Linked DNA regions of Homo sapiens: region 2 is linked to region 1. Evidence: promoter capture Hi-C in 16 types of primary human blood cells and fetal thymus (Javierre and others, 2016). All regions are on one chromosome and are shown on one strand. The core of a region is centred on a gene start or on the middle of the fragment in contact, and the rest is flanking DNA. Distances in the headings are between cores, read along the strand shown. Region 1 holds the start of USP34 (ubiquitin specific peptidase 34). Region 2 overlaps UGP2 (UDP-glucose pyrophosphorylase 2).

What was found. The method cuts DNA at HindIII sites, captures the fragments that hold promoters and counts their contacts. A CHiCAGO score of 5 or more calls a contact.
Region 2: a fragment that was not itself captured here is called in contact with the fragment with the promoter of USP34 in region 1 in 1 of 17 cell types (fetal thymus); the score reaches 5.5 in fetal thymus.

The regions. Positions count from the first base shown.
Region 1 is chr2:61,468,375-61,474,207 of GRCh38, forward strand. It overlaps USP34 (ubiquitin specific peptidase 34), which reads right to left and starts at 2,713. Exons shown (of 80, transcript NM_014709.4): 1 at 2,276-2,713. The coding sequence starts at 2,318. It overlaps USP34-DT (USP34 divergent transcript), which reads left to right and starts at 2,722. Exons shown (of 3, transcript NR_185882.1): 1 at 2,722-3,005. RefSeq lists silencers at 2,035-2,454, 2,545-2,624, 2,655-2,964. The HindIII fragment of the contact is 6,929 bases long and covers 1-3,592 here.
Region 2 is chr2:63,842,451-63,848,179 of GRCh38, forward strand. The region is part of intron 1 of UGP2 (UDP-glucose pyrophosphorylase 2); the gene reads left to right. Among named protein-coding and RNA genes, the nearest start is that of UGP2, 3.4 kb to the left of the region's middle. RefSeq lists an enhancer at 4,856-5,636. The HindIII fragment of the contact is 1,431 bases long and covers 579-2,009 here.

The DNA of each region.
Region 1 (5,833 bases), core at 1,463-3,962:
GTTTCTCCATGTTAGTCAGGCTGGTCTTGAACTCCCAACCTCAGGTGATCCGCCAACCTTGGCCTCGCAAAGTGTTGGGATTACAGGCGTGAGCCACTGCGCCTGGCCGTAAATTTTTTTAAAAAGGAAGCATCACTGTGAGATTATTGTTTAAGAGTTAAACTTTTAAATTGAGCCTCAAAGGCAATATTAAGAAACTAAGTATTTTTAGAGTCCACTGGCTTACACACAAATAGAAAATCCTTACTTGTTCATTAGAACAGGTTTCTTAGAGGGTGCACATGACCAGATTTTGAGAAGCTGGTTGAACTAACTGTATTTGCTTAAAGGTAATAAAAGCTAAATTCTATTTCAATTCTCCACATTTCTAACACTCCATAAATGCACTGCATTTTTCAGTGCTTCTAACCAAAGTTCTAGGGGTTTCCCAGATAATCTTAAATAAGACCTTTCATTATGATCAAGATGCCACCTCTTTTCAAAAGATAAACCAACTTTACTTTCTTTAGATGTTTTGTTTAAAATTTTCCAAGTTTAAGATATTTTAAAATCAGCCAGGCGCAGTGGCTCACGCCTGTAATCCCAGCACTTTGGGAGGCCGAGGCAGGCGGATCACAAGGTCAGGAGCTCAAGACCAGCCTGACCAACATGGTGAAACCCCGTCTCTACCAAAAATACAAAAATCAGCCGGGCATGGTGTGGGGAACCTACATTTCCAGCTACTTGGGAGGCTGAGGCAGGAGAATCGCTTGAACCTGGGAGGCAGAGTTTGCAGTGAGCCGAGATCATGCCATTGCCCTCCAGCTTGGGCAACAAGAGCAAAACTCTGTCTCAAGAAAAAAAAAAGATATTTAAAATCACCAACAAAATTAAGTACTTGTTCCTCATATTACATTGCAAAACGATTAACTTTCCAAGTTGAGCGTAACAATCATAATCACACGACTTGTATGTGAGATATAAAACACAGTAAGTATTGAGGATTTAAGTTTATCATATCGTAAACCGCCTGCGCCAGAAATAAAAGTATCTCAAAATACACACAAATAATCTTAAAATTCTAGGATAATTTAGGGTGACACAAATACTGGAACCTCTAGTTGGAATATGTGCAAAAGCCTATTCCACCTATCAGGAAGTAAATACGGAGTTGAAATTAAGTTAGAACCCTTCCACTTTTATTATTGTCTTTGGTCATTAAAGTGACAGTCAAACACAAATACCATGGTACATTTTATAAATCAACTGTTTTAGCGAATTGTATTACAAAATTAGATAGTCTGAAAGTCTGTGGAAATATCACAAACAGAATACAAATCCAAAACCCACATAAACTGTTCATAAGTGAGCATTTTTTCAACAATCAACTTTTTGTAAATTGATCCCTTCATCTAATTCACCTCTGCCAACTAGGCCTTTACGCCCAGAAGTAGTTGATTTGCAATATATCTTCTATAAGCTGAAATACCATCTTGCAAGGGTCGAGAATAAAATAAAAAGGCCAGAAAAGATCAACGTACCCTTTTTAATAATAAAAAGTAAAGTACCAGGTAAAAGGCCTTTCCTTCCAAGAGAGATAGGCCATAACTATCCCGGGATGGTATGTGTAGTACAGTGCTCTGCTTAACAGAATGTACCATTAAAGCGGTGAATGCTACACTAAGAAACATCATTAACAAATTTATTTTAAAAATAGGTATGAAGGTTCCAATCATCACTATCACAGTTCGTTTTCAGCTATTTAAGGTCTGGCTGAAGTGTTTAAGACACCCACAAACCCGCAAGGGAGGGAAAAACCACCACCCTGCTCCCGGGAGTTTAATGAAAATTAGCAGGTAAGAGAGGCCTCGGCAGCACGCTGGAAATCAAAGAGGGCGGCCGGAGGATTTGGACTGCGGAGGAAAGCCTCGTCCTCCGACCCCACCTCCCCGCACCTTCCCGGCAGGGCGAAGGAGGCGAAGGCGGCGAGGGGTTCATTACTGCCTTCATTAATTGACACCTGTAATGAGGAAACTTTCCGAGAGCCCAGAGCGCCCGGGCCAGGCCGAGCCGGAGCTCCGCGGCGGCCGCCTCTCGGGCGCCCAGGTAACCCGGCCGGGCTGGGCCCGAGGCGCCGCGGCGGCCGCGCCACCGCGCACCTTCCCGGGGCGCTAGGCCCGCACGCCGCCCGGCCCGGCCGTCGCCTCCCGCAGGCCGCGGCAGCCCGGGGAGGCCAGAGAGCTGCGCGAGGACCCCAAACCGTGCACCCCGACAGGCCGCTACCGCGGCTACTTACTTTCATTTAACACCTCCACCAGGTCTGCGCAGTTCTCGCACATCGTTCGGCCGCCGCCCCCCCCCTCCCCCGCTTCGGATCACACTGACTGATCCCGACCGGCGGGGGGGAGGGGAGAGAGGCGGAGGAGGGGGCCGGCCGGCCGGCGGGGCGGGGAGGCGACTAGGGCGGGCGGCGGCGGGGACGGGGCGGGGAGCAAGAGAATGGGGGAGGGGGCCGGCGGTCCCCGCAGCGGGAGGGGGAGAGGAGGGGAGCGAGGGGAGGTGCGCAGGCCGGAGGGGCGCCGAGGCGCCGGCGGCGGGGAAGGGGGGGAAGGACGGGGGGAGGGGAGAGGGGGGGAGGGGGCGGGTGGGGAGAGAAGCAGCAGAGTCACTTCACCGACCAGACGCCGCGGCCACCGCCGACGCCGCCGCCATTTTAACAGAGCGCTCGGGCTGCGCTCGGCTCTTTCCGCCCGGGCTTAGGAGCGGACGAGAGGCGCCTCGCGCTCTCATTCCTCCGCCTCCCTCCCTTTCTCGCCTCTCCTCCGCCCCCCACCTCTCCCTCCGCACACACGCCGCACGCTCCACACCCCGCCGTGGCCGGCTCGCCGCCCTCCCTTTCCTCTTCCGTCCGGCCTCCCCGCCCTCGGTCCACCCCCTCCGCGCGCTCGCCCACCCCGCCCAGCCCGGATCTCTGTCAGCGGCCGGAAGGGAAACGCGAAGCCAGCGCGGCCGCGGGGGGAGTCCGGGTGAGTAGGAGAAGATGGCGGAGGCAACGGACGGGTCGCGGTTGCGTGGCGTCGCCCACCACGACCCACTCCACGGGCTCTGAGGCCCGGGGAGCGCCAGGTCACTCGCTCCGTCCTGTCCCCCGCCCCTGGGCTTCGCCATTTTTCCCCAGGGCCTGGGTCGGGGAGTTGGTGCGGGTTTCTTTGGTGTCCCCGGCCTCTTCCGCGCTTAGGCTTTTGGGGTACGGGAAGCAAGGAGTCAACTTGGGTGCCGGGCCGGGTCTACGCCGTAGCCCTCTTTCGGGCGCAAGGGCCACTCCCCCCGGGGTCTGAGAGTGAATCAGCCCAGGGCCCGGCTTAACTGCATCGGTGATTATCGCTACCCTGCAGTTCCTTGAAGGTCCTCCGTCCTGGAGCAGTAAGATCCTTGACGTAACTAGAAATGGCAGGGTAAGGAGTGTTTGCCTGACATCGTCTCGTTTTTACGGAAGAGGGCCCCTCACGATGTGCCCATCAGCCCCACCTGAAATAGCAAGAAATCTTCTTCAGCAGAGAGCGAATAACAAGGATATTAAGATAAAGAACAGGTGAAGGGGGCAGTCAGCTGAAGCTTGTAAGGGAATTTTCCTCACGCCGGCACTTACCCCTTGCTTGCTAATTTTTGTGTTCAACGTGTTTACATAGACATGTGACTGCAAAGTCCGAAAGATCGTGTACAGAATCTCTGAACGGTAACCAGAGTGTCTGTCAAGGCTCTGTAGTCATTCTCTCGATAGCTTTTGTGGAGGTTATGGCACGCCCATCTCTCCATGCCAGAACCACCTGGTTCCAAATGCTTTGCCTTTCTGCTGCTTGAAGTTGATACTATAAACAGTCTGCCCAACCCGTTTTGTTTCCCACTAGCAGGTGATCCTTAGGATTGTAGTTCTATTCTACCATCATCTTCCCTTCTTCCTTGTCTTTCTCACAGAATTGGGTTTTTGCAGACTTACTTTGGATCCTGAGGCAGACATTCGTTGTCCACTCAACATACATTCCCACGTATCCCTTTTTTCCCTGCCAACACAACCCCAATTATTTTTATTTGAATTTTTTTTTTTTGAGACAAAGTCTCACTCTGTCGCCAAGGTTAGAGTGCAGTGGTGCGATCACAGTTCACTACAGCCTCCACTTTATGGGCTCAAGGGATCCTCCCACTTCCCTAGTAGCTGGGGCTACAGGCGCTCTCCACCACACGTAACTAATTGTTTTTTATTTTTAGTAGGGACAGGGTCTTGCTATGTTACCCAGGCTGGTCTCAAACTCCTGGCCTCAACTGATCCTCCGGCCCAAAATGTTAGGATTACAGGTATGAGCCAACGTGCTGGTCTCACGTTTTTTCAGGTAGCAGTTGAAACCAACCATCATGGTGATCTGGCTTTTCTAGGGCTGGCCATACATAATTGAGTTCCTCCTGATAAAAGGTAAGCAACAATCCTGAGAAACATAGTGGGAGCCCTGTGTCTACAAAAATTTAAAAGGTGGCTGGGCGCGTTGGCTCACTCCTGAAATCCCGCACTTAGGGAGGCTGAGGTGAGCAAATCACCTGAGGTCGGGAGCTCTAGACCGGCCTGACCAACATGGACAAAGCTCATCTCTGCTAAAAATACAAAATTAGGCATGGTGGTGCATGCCTGTAATCCCAGCTACTCAGGAGGCTGAGGCAGGAGAATCGCTTGAACCCGGGAGGCAGGGGTTGCGGTGAGCCGAGATCGCGCCATTGCACTCCAGCCTGGGATAAGAGTGAAACTCCGTCTCATAAAAAAAAAAAAAAAAAAAGGCCAGGCATGGTGGTTCATGCCTGTAATCCCAGCGCTTTGGGAGGCCGAGGCGAGAAGATCACTAAATCAGGAGATTGAGACCATCCTGGCTAACACGGTGAAACCCCGTCTCTACTAAAAATACAAAAAATTAGCCAGGCATGGTGGTGGGCGCCTGTAGTCCCAGCTACTTGGGAGGCTGAGGCAGGAGAATGGCATGAACCCAGGGAGCAAAGCTTGCAGTGAGCTGAGATCGCGCCACTGCACTCCAGCCTGGGCGACACAGCAAGACTCCGTCTCAAAAAAAAAAAAAAAAAATTACCTGGTCGTGGTGGCTCACGACTATAATCATAGTACTTTGAGAGTCCAAGGCAGATGGATTGCTTGAGCCTGGGAGTTCTACATCAACCTGGGCAACATGGCAAAAGTCCATCTCCAGTACATAAGAAAATTAGTGGAATGTGGTGGTGCACACCTGTAATCCCAGCTACTGGGGAGGCTGAGGTGGGAGGATCACTAGAGCCCAGGAGATTGAGACTGCAGTGAGCTGTGGTCATACCACTGCAGTCTAGCCTGGGTGACAGAGTGAGACCCTCTCTGGAAAAAAAAAGAAATGTAAGCAGAAATCTGCAGGATGGGTTCTTTGGGAAGAATTCCCAAAAGAATTCCTAATACGATGAGGGACAAATTCAGCTAACATACCATTTAACCCTTTCTGCCTGAAACATGGTCTTGATGCACAAAGTAATACCCATCTTGTAATTTTTTTAACAATGAAAACTTTTACCCCATTTGCGATTTCATTGTTTAAAAAATTTGATTAAACAGGCCGGGCACAGTGGCTCACGCCTGTAATCCCAACACTTTGGGAGGCTGAGGCAGGTGGATCACCTGAGGTCAGAGTTCAAGACCAGCCTTACCTACATGCTGAAACCCCATCTCTTCTAAAAATATAAAAAATGAGCCGGGTGTGGTGGCGGGCACTTTGTAATCCCAGCTACTCGGGAGGCTGAGGCTGGAGAATTGCTTGAACCCGGGGGTGGAGGTTGC
Region 2 (5,729 bases), core at 44-2,543, 2.4 Mb after region 1:
TCGCTTTCCTGGATAGTGGCTGTAAGTGATAAAACAGGATTTTTGGCTGCTAATTAATCCTTGTTCTCTTTTCCTGGTCTGTGTCAAGGTACCTGTGCGTGCACGCAGACGGGAAGGGCTGGGGAAGCGGGAGGACTGAGAAAAGCCGGGTGGGTTTTGCCGGGACTGTTGGGGAAGCTTTAGTGTTCTCCGCTTCTACTTCGTTTGTGTGTACGTGGTTTGCGTCTCAGATTCACTTATTGCGAAACTGGGAGTAGCCCGAAGAAGCTGGAGGTCATTTCAGCTGGAGAAATGACTTTGCTGCATTGCTGTGTTTATTTTTTCCTTTTTTGAACTATGAAAAGATGATTAAGGTTCCTTTGAAGTTTGAAAACTGCTCTCTAAATTCCACATGTGTATTTAAAAAGGGTTAGGGAATGCCTCAACTGAGATTATCAGTAACGTGTATATGAATGCATGTGTGTACGGTGTACTCACTGAAATTGGTGCTGGCATAAACCTTTGACACCAGTTTGTAGCATGAGATTTGCCTTCTGGTATGCAAGTAAACTCTTTCCTTGTAGACTCCAGTGTGTGAAAGCTTCAGCCATCTTGATGAACACACAGCTAGTAAAGTTCACAAACACTTATTATGCTTCCTGATAAATGTAGGTGTACTTTTGGAAAAAAAAAGTTGTGTCAGTAATGGCCATCATTTGACCCTGGGAATAAAAATGCCCTACTGAGTTCTACATCGCTTTATTAACTCTTCTTTAAATTTTGTGTAGTAGATTAAAGTAAGAGAATTCGACTGCCTGTGTTATTATCGAAACAGATCGAACGCTATGCTTGCCTTTAGCGCTAAGCTCAGAAATGTCACTTGTTATTAGACTTTCAAATTCATGTTATACCTTATATGTGGTAAGAGATGCTTATGTTCTGATTGAGTAAATGTCTTATTCAAGAATAGAAAGGCAGAACTGTTAGAAACGTACTGGTTTTGTAATAACAATATTCAGTTACCATAAAGGCGGTATTTTGCAAGAATATGCTAGGTAAAAGTGGACAAGTTACTTCTCTTTAAAAGTTAGAAATATTAATAAACCCAAGGTGTTCCATGTAGAGTTATGCTTTAGAATAGGTTGCAGAATTGGCAAGCATTGACTGATTTCACAGCCTTTGCTGTAATGCCAACTTGTCCTCAGAAGATTCAAAATCAAGTGGTAAGAGTTGCTGTGTATGTTTGTCATTACTTTGTCATCCACTTTTTTTAAAAAAACTTTTTATATTTTGGAATACTTCAGGATTTATAGAAAAGTTGCACATTTGTCAAAACTAAGAAATTAACATAGGTACATTACTGTTAACTAAAGGCTTTGTTCAGATTACAGTTCCCATGATTCACTCTAAGATACCAGATTGCACTTAGTTGCCAGCCACTTTTTTTCTTTTTTCTTTTTCTTTCTTCTTTTTTTGTCAAGGTCTTACTGTGTTGTCCACGCTGGAGTACAGTGGGTATTCACAGGAACAATCATAGTGCACTACAGCCTCAAGCCCCTGGGCTCAAGCTGTCCTCCTGCGTTAGCCTCCTGAGTAGATGGGACTTAGGCATATGCCATAGCCTATAGTTGTCATACATTTTTACTTTAAATGGTAGTTTTCCTTTTAAGATGGGCAGTTTTGCACAAGAATATGACACCTCCTCAAAATTTTTTGACATGAATGTGCTCCTGTTTATCATTGTTTAAATTTTGTACAGTGTGAGCCCTCTATATGTTTAACTCTGCTGCTGTTGTAAATGATAAACCTAATTGGCAAATGACACAGCTGTCTCCACAAAAGAGCTTTCAAGTGTAAGGGTTGGAAATTTTGGTTTTGATTATTTTTTTAAGCAAATCAAATTCTTTGATCTTTGCTGCAGAAAATATTGATATTTCCAATCACTGGCACTTAGTAGTTCATGCTCCTTCATAGGGGAAAGAGTTAACAAATGTTAGGTTTCTAACTTTTTTTTTTCATGGGTTTTCTCAAGCTTTATAAGAGTCCTGAGATGTAGATTTTTTATCCTGCCCTTACAGGTGAGGAAAGTTAAGTATCTTGTCCAAAGTTCACAGCTTGTATAAAGCACTGATTGATTGATAGATTGATTTTGAGGCAGGGTCTCACTTTGTTGCCAGGCTGGAGTGCAGTGGTGCGATCACAGCTCACTGCAGCCTTGATCTCCTTGGCTTAAGCAATTTTCCCACCTCAGCCCCCTGAGTAGCTGGGACTACAGGTGCACACCACCATGCCTGGCTACTTTTCTCCTTTTTTAAAGAGACAGGCTTTCCCTATGTTTCTCAGGCTGGTCTCAAACTCCTGGTCTTAAGCGATCTTCTAGCCTCAGCCTCCCAGAGTACTGGGATTACAGGTGTGAGCTGCTAGTGCACAGCACTGAAATTCTTACATGAGTGTGTCTAAAACCCTAGTCCTTCCCGACATCTTTTGTTGCTTCTAACATTAACAACTGTGGAAATGGCCTGTTTCTCCAGCTAGACTGTCAGTTCCCATTGGGCAAAGATAATATTATATCCTTGGGAGAAATACAGTGTTTTGTAAGTGGACGATACTCTAAATGAATTTGTCATGGATGACAAATGAGAAGCCCACAGCTTAGCATTTTCCATCTACTATTTAGTAGCTTATCTTACATTTTTGGTTGTAGTTTTTATAACACCTCTTAGATTATATAAATGTTGAGAAAGATGGAAAGGTACAGACTTAGATTTGAATACCGTTACTAGCAGGTGATCTTAGGCACATACCTTTCAAACCTCAGTTTCTTCTTAGATAAAAATTGGGCAGTAATGCTTATGCCTCAGGGTTATTGAGAGGCTGAAATGAGATGAACTATGTGGATGTGCTAGGCACATATTAGGTAGCCAGTCAATTTTACTTTTCTTTCCTGAAATGATGGTGGCCTTTCAGATAGCATTGCCACCCAAAATATAACCACATGTCATCAACAGAACTAAAAGAAAAAAGGCAGGTATGAAAGTTCTTTATTTTCCTATTCCAGGTTTCATGTTCAGGCCTAGGTGTTATTATGTTAAAAAAAAAAAAAAAAAGTGCCGGGGTGGGGCAAGGTAACGTTTGGACAATATGAATTTGGTTGTAGTTTTTATAACCTCTCAACTTGAGTACAAGTTGGTGACGGTTTTCTTCTGAATACAGTGAACAAAATTTTTTTTGAGCTCTTACTATGTATGATGTACTGTATTAGGATTTCTGGCATATCCCTTATGGTAGGCACTGAAGTTCAGCAGATCTGGGCATTACACCTAAGTGTTGTGTACACCTGTTTTGAATGTAGTAGGATGGTTGCTATACTTGGCTTGTATCTCCTTCTCCAAATCCTAGGCATTGTGCCTTAGAGGAAAGCTGGGTATCTCCATCCTCAAGCATATTGACCGTAAACTATTAGGTGGAAATGTTCAATTAATAAAAATATTGAGGTAGGCAGGAGAGTTCTTAGTATATATTTCTTGGTCAAAAAAAAAGGTTCACGTTTCTTTGGTCACATCCCCAAGTCTCTGTCCCTCAGGCACTTAACATTCCTTCTCTTAGGAAGACCTTTCTTTACTGGATCTGCAGCATAATTCCTAGCTATTCTGCTGTTGGGTCACCTTCTGCCTACTTGTGACATTCCTTCTGCTCTTCCTTGCTCCAGGGATTGTTCCAGGGCCCCCAGTTATTCTAAATGGATGTGAGTACCATCTCTTCCCTAGCTGAGTGAGAAAGGGGGCTCCCTGTCATAGTTTAAGGTACCAGGGGCGGGGGTCATCAGCAGCTGTGGGTTTTTGTCAGGTTTGTCAGTGGGTGCCATTTGGAATTTTGCTTTTAAAAAGTTCTGAGAGTTATGGGGTAATCACTCTAAATGTTTTGAAACTTAATAAATAGTGAAGAGAGTAATGTTGTCTAGCCAGCTAAGGCTATAATGGATGCTAATGCTCTAATATTAGAGGCATTGTTTTTTTAAAAAAAATGATTCTAAATGTGCCATTATCTATCTAAATTATGTAAAAATGTCCCTGATGTTCTTAAATTGAGGTACATACTTACATTTCAGGGAAAGTCATTTAAGTACCTCTGTCACTTAAAAAATGCTTGAGGCCTATCAGCTTTCCCATTTGTTAAAATTCTTTTCATAACTTTTTTGGTGACTCCTATTTGATAGATGGCAGCTAGCCAGGGAAGATTACTGAGCTAATTATAACTGGAGGGGTCTCCGAGGAATACAGAGATGAGAAGCATTCTGGGGCCTGGTTCTTCTCAAATCCTAAAACCAAATTTAGCCTGTTGCTGATTATTTAGATGATGAGGACACTTTTAGCACAGGGATAGTGGCATGGATTTGAGTGAGGACAAGAGCCATGAAAATAATGACTAGGGCATACCCCTCATTTTTTAAAGATCTGATTTAAGATTTATTATATTATTTGAAGAGAAGGGTTTAGTTAAATTCAGTCACAGTTATAAATGTAAAAAAAAATTCTAAAGAAATTTAAAATGAAGAGTTGAGCTGATGAAAAGTGCTGTTTTCCAACATGGACCTTGTAATCTCTGTGGTTAAATTGTCCGTGTTCTTGCTAACTCAGCCTTTCTTCTAATAAGATGGATGATTTTCATTTGTGAAAGTCTACTGAGGAAAAAAAATTGATAAGGGACATTAGAGAAATTAGAAATATTAACTGGTACTCTTTTTGGGAGTGCCATTTTAATATTCTGAATAAATTGAAAAATGACCTTAAAAGGAAATTCAGGTGTTATTTTAGTCCATAGGTATTTTCTTGTAATATGTTTCACAGAGACCCTTCCCTTTGTTGGTATGTATTATTTTTCCCTTCATAGATGAATTATAGCAAGTTTAATTAAAATAATGGGATACTTAGATTGTGTGAGGAACATCAGTTGGCCTAATAATGAAAGTGTTTCAAATAAAAGAAATATACTGTAGTTTCCTAGTTCCCACCAAGCTTTTTGCAGAAGTATAGGCTTTCATGCTCGTCCGTGTGAAGAGACCACCAAATAGGCTTTGTGTGAGCAACATGGCTATTTCACCTGGGTGCAGGTGGGCTGAGTCCGAAAAGAGAGTCAGTGAAGGGAGATAAGGGTGGGGCCATTTTATAGGATTTGGGTAGGTAAAGGAAAATTACAGTCAAAGGGGGTTTGTTCTCTGGCGGGCAGGAGTGGGGGTCACAAGGTGCTCAGTTGGGGTGGTTTTGAGCCAGGATGAGCCAGGAAAAGGACTTTCACAAGGTAATGTCATCAGTTAAGGCAAGGACCGGCCATTTACACTTCTTTTGTGGTGGAATGTCATCAGTTAAGGTGGGGCAGGGCATATTCACTTCTTTTGTGATTCTTCAGTTGCTTTAGGCCATCTGGGCGTATACGTGCAAGTCACAGGGGATGCAATGGCTTGGCTTGGGCTCAGAGGCCTGACATAGGCATTATGAGTTCTCAGAAAGTTAGCAATATTAATTACTGAAAAGTTAACATAAACAGATATTTGAAAGTCAACCTGGATTATCTGTGAAAATGAAGAAGAGTGTGTTAACTTTCTGTAATGCCATTCATCCTGATATCCAGCATTTATACTGTTGGAGAAAATTCCAGCAATATGAATAAATTAGTAGGGCAAGTTCTCTGGCTTGGGGTTTAATGGATGAGAAAATATGATTCAGTTACTACCTTTTTGGTTGGATAGAATC